Linked DNA regions of Homo sapiens: regions 1 and 2 are each linked to region 3. The links are contacts of gene promoters, found by promoter capture Hi-C in blood cells and fetal thymus (Javierre and others, 2016). All regions are on one chromosome and are shown on one strand. The core of a region is centred on a gene start or on the middle of the fragment in contact, and the rest is flanking DNA. Distances in the headings are between cores, read along the strand shown. Region 1 overlaps ZNF292 (zinc finger protein 292). Region 2 holds the start of LCA5 (lebercilin LCA5). Region 3 holds the start of UBE3D (ubiquitin protein ligase E3D).

Evidence for each region. Contacts are between HindIII fragments. The CHiCAGO score rates a contact against its expected background, and 5 or more counts as called.
Region 1: a fragment that was not itself captured here is called in contact with the fragment with the promoter of UBE3D in region 3 in 1 of 17 cell types (total CD4 T cells); the score reaches 7.3 in total CD4 T cells.
Region 2: the fragment with the promoter of LCA5 here is called in contact with the fragment with the promoter of UBE3D in region 3 in 1 of 17 cell types (activated CD4 T cells); the score reaches 6.0 in activated CD4 T cells.

Annotation. Positions count from the first base shown.
Region 1 is chr6:87,156,224-87,158,923 of GRCh38, reverse strand. The region is part of intron 1 of ZNF292 (zinc finger protein 292); the gene reads right to left. Among named protein-coding and RNA genes, the nearest start is that of ZNF292, 2.0 kb to the right of the region's middle. RefSeq lists an enhancer at 1,933-2,540. The HindIII fragment of the contact is 2,438 bases long and covers 53-2,490 here.
Region 2 is chr6:79,536,037-79,538,736 of GRCh38, reverse strand. It overlaps LCA5 (lebercilin LCA5), which reads left to right and starts at 1,307. Exons shown (of 8, transcript NM_001122769.3): 1 at 1,307-1,572. It also overlaps a transcript of SH3BGRL2 not described here. RefSeq lists enhancers at 1-263, 794-843, 838-1,411. The HindIII fragment of the contact is 3,782 bases long and covers 349-2,700 here.
Region 3 is chr6:83,064,450-83,067,155 of GRCh38, reverse strand. It overlaps UBE3D (ubiquitin protein ligase E3D), which reads left to right and starts at 1,315. Exons shown (of 10, transcript NM_198920.3): 1 at 1,315-1,514. The coding sequence starts at 1,438. The HindIII fragment of the contact is 10,412 bases long and covers 1-1,659 here.

The DNA of each region.
Region 1 (2,700 bases), core at 22-2,521, 4.1 Mb before region 3:
TCATCTTTGCCTTCTTGAAGCGTGTGACTATCCCAGTTTTACAGGAAAAGCTTAAACAGAAAAAGTTAAATAATAATCTCAAGGTTAGAAACTAAGACATAATTTCTAGCTCCTAGTATCCCTGGTACTATATTTAGATTGCGCCAATAAATTCTTTAATTGTTAACCATTGCTTCACTCAACTTCGTATCAAAATGCTAGGTGATAATTGCTAAGATACAATTTTATTTTTATTTTTTATTTTTTTGAGACAGGATCTTTCTCTGTCACCCGGGCTGGAGTGTGCACAGTGCACCATCTCTGCTCACTGCAACCTCTGCCTCCCGGGTTCAAATGATCCTCCCACCTCAGCCTCGTAAGTAGCTGGGACTACAGGCACTCGCCACAGCGCCTGGCTAATTTTTTTGATTTGTTTTGTTTTTTGTATTTTTTGTAGAGAAGGGGCCACGCCATGCTGCTCAGGCTCAAGCGATCCGCCCAACTCGGCCTCCCAAACTGCTGGGATTACAGGTGTGAGCCACCTCCACCCCTGTAAATAAACATAAATAAACAATTGTTTCAAGTTACCTCCACTTGACAAGATCACTAACATAAATAGGTTACCTGAGAAACAAAACAAAAAACCCCACCCCAGAAAATGTTCCAGAGGAAATCAGACACACTCTGTATCGTTTCAAATGGAGATTACTTTTAAGTGTATTTAAATTATTCTGAGCTTACAGTGTATGAAATATTTTATAATTTTTGAAATCCACAAATCCAGCATTTGTTTCATTAGTGTTTGATGTTTTTTTGTCAGTAGCATCAATAACAATTTATGTGGCAAGACTAATCACTTAATGAAACTGATATAGGAAATTACTTTCATTCTGATTTTTAAAATGCTGTTTCACTCATTAAAAAACTCAAGTCTGGCGGGACGCGGTGCTCACACCTGTAATCCCAGCACTTTGGGAAACAGAGGTGGGTGGATCACTTGAGGTCAGCAGTTCGAGACCAGCAGTTCGAGACCAGCCTGGCCGACATACAGTGAAACCCCAAACCTCATCTCTACTAAAAACACAAAAATTAGCTGGGCTTGGTGGCGCACGCCTGTAGTCCCAGTTACTTGGGAAGCTGAGGCAGGAAAATCGCTTGAACCCAGGAGATGGAGGCTGCAGTGAGCTGAGATCGCACCACTGCACTCCAGCCCGGGTGACAGAGCAAGACTCCATATCTCAAAAATAAATAAATAAATAAAAATCTTTAAGTGATAACTTTACAACGTCACACACTCACAAAAAAGCGGGGGGGAGTCCAGCTTGCATGAGATTCTATTTTCCCAGAATTATTAATCCTGCTTACAAATACTGCTGACAAAAAAAGAATTTACAGTAATTAGCCTTAAAACTATCAGTGGACACTATTAGGGGAAAATGTCTTTCAGCAAAGCTAGACTTTAATAGTTTTCACTGATTATTATATAAAAACTGATTCGACTTACAAATGAAATACTTCCTATTATGGGTATCTTAGAGAAATTTTTTTATCTCTAAAATAAATCTTTAAAGACCAATTAAGAATGAGTGGGTACTGCAAAGTAGAGAAACTGAGAAATTTCAACAATTTTTAAATATTAAAATTCAAAGGAATGAGACTTTAATTTTGCCACAGGTACTCACCAGACCTATTTACCTAAGTAGGGAGCTTTCACATTGCACATCCTCCTAGACGTCACCACTTGATCTCACAGTTTTTGTTTTTAAGATTATGAACAGCCATCAAATAATTTGTGACAATAAAGTGCATACAGCAACGGAGATTCTTTTGTATGTGATCACGTATCCCCGACATAATAAAGAAAATATTTCAATATTTGGAAGCTAAAAAATAAGTGAAAATGTAATCTACTCAGCTAAAATGGTCAACCATTGTTCTACGTTAAGATCAGTATTTTTCCAAAACGAATTCTCTGTAATGATACACTCACAAGTTAACTCTAAATATGACCTGTGTAAATTGTGTCTTCTTTTTCCTCCTCAAGACAATCAAATCAAAGTCTTCACCAGAGCCAGCAACACTACCTTGAAATTTTAAACCTAAGTGTAAGGCTCGTAATGAAGTGCAAATGTAGTCCCAAACTCTCCGATTTTCACCATGGATGAAATGATTTTCATCACTAGCAAACAGTGTTATTAACATTCCAAATTCTGGTTAGAATGCAGTCACTGGTGAGCAGTGCCCTTGGGCAAGCAAAGAAAAGATTTGAAACTACCCAAAGCACAGATCCACATGAACCTCAGTCTTCTCCCACTTCATCAGGAAGCCAAATAGGAAGGACTCCAAGAAACAGGGGTGAGGGGGTGATCGGGACAGAAAGGATAGTGGAAATCATACTCCTCGAAGGGCGAAAGCAAATGAGAAACGGACTCTGGAAAAACCGCCCCAAAAGGACACTCAACCTGAGACAGATGTACAGGCACAGCTCCTCTACACTAAGGAGATAAAGCTTTACCACAGAAGTGATGCACCAAGCAAGCAAGTATGGGCAGGAGGGGACAACCTCCGCCAAGCACCCCCTCCCGAACGTCTAGCTCAACTAGAAGGGGTCGGCGGGGACTGCTCCTCCGAACATCAACAAAGGCCCCTTCAGTCCTAAGGCGAAACTCGAACAACAAAGGCCCGGAGACAGCCAGGACAGGGCCGGGGCTGGGGGGCGGG
Region 2 (2,700 bases), core at 58-2,557, 3.5 Mb after region 3:
CTGACGCTCCTGTGACAGACATTTGTCCACGTAAATACGGTATGTTTTCTGATTCTTCCTAGCAACTTCCTTTATAAGTAATCCACCCATACATTTACATGTTAATTCTAACAGAGTCCATAATAACGAGTGAGCTATTTTAACAGTGTCAGCAGAGACAGATTAAAGAATTGATGAAAAGTAATTCCGTGCAATTTAGGGATTACTCATCTTATTTTCACTAACAGATGACTGCCATCTTGTACAGATGTATTTCGCATACAGAAAATTACATTTAATCACAATATTGTTTGGGTGGGTTAGTCTGTAACTTGAAGTAAAATGTATTGACAGGATAAAATGAAAGCTTTGAAACAGTGCAAAGGTGGAAAAACGAGGTTGAGCGAGAAGCAGGAATTACCAATCTTCATGGTTAGAAGATTCATTAAACGCATTTGCCTTCAAATATTAGATTCTCTACAGAATGGTGGTAAAAAGGCCAGTGAGAAATTAACAATAGTGAGAACACCAGAGTAGTGTTAAACCACCTTGATAATCAGATGGCTCGGAGCAGTTTAAAGCCCTCACGAAAGAGGATTTTTTTTTACCTTCCCTGTCTCCCGCAATTAATGCCATTTCTAAAAGAGAAAATATGTCACACATCAGCGCTCAATAGGCTGACATGCTCCTCAAAACGTTCCTTAAAAAAAAAAAAAAAAAAAAAAAAAAAAAAAAAAAACTTGTGTGCAAATATTTCAGATGCCATTCCACCCCAAACCCGTTCCAAAACCTAAAAATCACTTTCAAGCCAAACTCACGGCTCGTTGGTGATTCACAGCCAGGATCTCGAGGCAGGAACAATAGTGCACTCACCCCGCATCCTCCTGAATCAGCCATTTCGGTAAGAAGATCCAGAAGCACTAGCAGTTTGTTTGTAATTTGTTTACAATTTAAAAGCAAGTTATTTCCCAAAGGAAATCTAAGCAATTGTTAAGTGTTTTACATTACGCAGTCGCCAATTTTACAATTCATATCATGAACCCACTTTGCCCTCCGCCCGCGTCCCTCTCGGAGCCCACGACGCTCAGCAGTCGAGCCCTGGCACCGCACAGCCCGTAGGAGCCTGGAGCGCTCCGCGTTTTGCCCCAATTTCCCTACTTGGGGGTCTCCGCTACAGCTAGAGCGGTCGGCCAATGGAGACCTTCTCCCGCACTCGCCGTCCCGCCTTCCAGTTCCACTGAAGCCAATAAAAAGGGCCGTCTGGAGACAGAAGCCAATGGGAGCTCGGGTAGAGTCATCATGATTGGCTGCGGTCTCTTCGTAGTGCAGTCTAGGCCTCCGCCTCCGTTACCCTGGAGCCCAGGTTACCGCCGCTGCCACCCAGGAGCCCCGATCCTCGCCTCTGTCCCATCCTTGTGTTCAAACCTCCCGCATCTCGGCAACCTCGGCACCCGCCCGGCAGCCTCCGCAGGAACCAGGCACCCGCTCTTTGGCGGTCAGACGCCGAGGCCCCAGCTGGGAGTTTGGTCCTAAGAGGGAAGGCAAGGAGGCGGGACGCCGCATCGGCTCTGCTGAAGAGCCTGCGGGTTGGAGGTGGGCTTTGAAGTGGGCGTGGAGACGGCGGGGGAGGTGGAGGTGCGAGGTGAGGCTGGGTTGAAGCGTCTGGTAGCTAGTGAAGGGGCGTTCGTGGATGGGGGCCTGCGGGTGGTTCTTAAAGCAGGGAAGATGAAGGGATTAGGGATGGGGGAGGATGTAGGGACCGCGAGGAGAAGGAAGACCTAGGAAAATGAGTAAAGAGCTCGGCTTCTGAGAGGGTCCCGAGGAAGGGAGGTTGACCGGCACTGGGGGGACTGGGAAGTTAGGAGGAGAGGAGCTGGGAAAGGGTATTTACTTCCTGGGACCGAGAAGAGAAGAAAGGGAGCAAGCGGATCTAGAGAAGTGGTTGTTATTAAAACAAACAAAACAAAAACCCCGGAGGCCCGTGGAGACTCAAGACTAGAGAGGAGGGGCAGGGCCAAGGGCCAAGACGGAAAAGGAGGCTTTGGTAGCTCTCGGATAATAATAGATGTGTTATTATTAAAACTGTGGTTAGAGTGGAAAGCCGTACTTGTCCAGGCTGTGATACTTCTATACATCCTTCAGGGATGGGATGAGAGGAGTAAAGATGGTTAGAAATAAAAGAAAAAAGAAAGTGCCTTTTTGGCATACTCGAGTTGGAGTCGGTACTCAGATACGTGATGTTTACGTTAGATAGACCGTGGGATAGTGTTTAACAGTGAAGAGCCCTGGTCCAGTTCATCTGATATAAACCCCTTTTTTGTTCACTTTGTTCTTTGGAAAGTATACTTGGGCACATACATATTTATTCCCCTCCTTTATCTTCACGTTAAGAACTTGCATTAGAGATATCTTTGCAATCAGAAGTCATCATTTAGTTTTTGGCAGAGGGAGTGGCTATATGTGTTTTAGAATGGTAAAACCGATGTTTCCAGTTCTTTACTCATTCCCTCTTTCTTTTGCATGGTTATTTTAATCTATGTTTTTTTCCAGTTGTTCCACATTTAAATTCTATATTACCATTTTAAATATTTCACTTTGTGATTTCCCATGTTAGCTAGTATGTTTATCCAAATAAGTTATAGGAAATAATAGTTTGTTTTGATTCTCTAAGTTGACAAAGTATCATTTTAAATATCAAAAAGTAGTTTGTGACTTTGGAAA
Region 3 (2,706 bases), core at 66-2,565:
TTTAAGCATTCAATAGCCTCGGGTACTAAAGGTGGAAGATATGAAGAGTTGAAATCATCATCCTTCAAATAGATGAATTATTTGAGACCAAATAATAGTAAACTTTATTTTTTTAAGTGAGTTGTTGCTTCCATCTATAACTTCAAATTATTGTGATAGATATAATAATTTGTGCATCAACATAATAAACTTTAATCACCCCAAATACTGATTTTAGAAAAATTGTCAAGCTATTATCTTAAAATATATGACAGGATTTATTTATTTAGAATTTATTTATGGTTTAGGCTGGGCATGGTGGCTCACACCTGTAATCTCAGCACTTTGGGAGGCCAAGGTGGGCGGATCTACCAAAAACAGAAAAATTAGCCGGGCATGGTGGCGCGTGCGCCTGTAATCCCAGCTACTCGGGAGGCTGAAGCAGGAGAATCGCTTGAACCCAGGAGGCAGAGGTTGCAGTGAGCCGAGATCGCGCCACTGCACTCCAGCCTTGGCGACAGAGCGAGACTCCGAAAAAAAATAAATAAATAAAAGCAGCTCCTTGTTTTTAAGAAGCCCTATTGTAATTCTACCCGGTCTTATATTTTAATAGTTCTTCATTATAAGTATTTACATTATACCAGGTTCTTTACTGTGTCAAACTTTTCAAAACTATCTTCTGGTAGTAAACTTCTCCAACTTCTCTTAGTTTTTACTTTTGTGAAAGTGAATAGTGGAGCTGTACATACGTAATCATTCTCATCTTCCTTTTTTACCCCCTAAAAAATGGTTAGTCCTGATAGACTTCAGCCACACTCTTCTGCATTAGGTAACAAAGAACTTCCTTATATTTTTGCACCTGTTTCAATTTTGGAGCTATCCTGTCTAAGTTGAGAAGCAATGGCAAGTCAATTCTTGAAAATTTTGTCGCTTTAGATAGAGGCTAACAAACGACCCTTGTTCATAAAGAGACCAAGATAAAGTGGGTTTGGGGCCGGGAATTCTGTTCTTGCATCTCCTGGGGACAAAGCCCACCTGTAACACTTGCCTCCATCATCTCCCTCCCTTCGAGCTAGCCAAAGGTGTGAACCCTGGGTCTGATTTTTATGGTCATTTCCAGGGATGCTAACGCGCCAAGTCACGCTCATAAGAAGCAGAGTGGGGCGATAGCTAGCCTCTCGCCGCCCACCTTTCTCAGCACTCTGGGCCAAAGCCTGGTTTTGAAAATGCGCGCCCCGCCCCGGCCTCCGGGGTCACGCGCCTTCTCGGTGGTGCACTCTCCGGCCGGCAGGTGGCGCTGTGAGCTGGTAGGCGGCGCCAGCCCTGCGATCTGGCACAGGCGCCTGCGCCGCAGCGGGGCTGCCGCTGGTTGGTCCGCACGTGGAACCTCTCCTGGTCCTGTTGACCCGGGCCCCTCGGAACCTCCAGCTTGGTCCGGTCTGGGACTGGAAGCCTGCCATGGCGGCTTCTGCGGCGGAGACGCGCGTGTTTCTGGAGGTGCGGGGACAGCTGCAGAGCGCGCTTCTGATCCTGGGGTAAGAACTGGGATTCTAGGCGCAGTGCCCAGCTCGCTTTACTGCTGCCCGGGGGTCGGGGGCTGGTGAGTCTCTCTCTGTACGAGGGATTTTGAGTTTCTTCTTTCCAGTTGCGTAGAGCCTCTCGATCACTCAAAGTGAAGCTTTCCCCTGTAGTCGGCTCCGCCACTCCCACCCCTACTGACAGTGTGGGTATCTTTGGGGAGCTTTTTAGAAATTCAGGGTCTCAGCTCCACACCAGACTTATGGAATCAAAACTTATATTTTAACAAGATTTCCAGGAATCAAATGCACATTAAAATTTGAGGAACAGTGATGTAAAACACTGTTGGCAGTGCCCGGCGTTTCCAACAAAACAATGCAAAAAATGATTTGTCTGTCTCTCTTCGGGATCCTCCTTACTGGATCAGTTCCTATGTGAGCTTCTTGTTTTGTAAATAACCTCGGGTCTTTTCGTCCAAAACTGCTCTTTGCAGAGAAACCACACAATCATTCAATAAACGTGAGTTTAGTGAACCACTAAGACAGGTTGTAGACTTCTTACTGGAGCTCGTTCATTTATTCATATTCTTCCTTCCAGTGAGAACGTCAAACTTGTTATTCGCTACACAAATAACTTTTAGGAAAAATGTTCTCTATTTTGTTTGACAGCAGTTTTAATGATTTGTGGTCCCCTTGTCTATTCCTTTGTGATCGCTGTTTCAAAGAGAGTAAGTTAGAAGTTAAAATCCTGAGAATGGTATTACACGGTGCCACAGGTAGATTGATGCTTAATTTTTTCCTCTTCCCTAAATCTGCCAGATATCTGGTGTGGCAATTTGGAATATGGCGTGAGAACTGAGTTCAAATGCTAGCTTCCTCACGAAATTAGAATAATTTAATCTGAATTTCTTCAATCTTGAAATGGGAATAATAGTACTCTGAATGTATTTCTTTTTCTCTTTCAAAATTTATGAATTTGGACAAATATCTCCAATTCTGGTGCACCTTGTAGAGTAATTAGGAACCCAAACCCTACCAAAATAAAACAAAAACCACACACACACAACAAACCCTCCCTTCCTCTCATGCAGGGGCCTTTCACAGTTCCCTTGGACTACTCTCCTTTGTTTAGGCAAGGTACCCGGGTGGCTCATGCCTGTAATCCCAGCACATTGGGAGGCTGAGGCGGGCGGATCACGAGGTCAAGAGA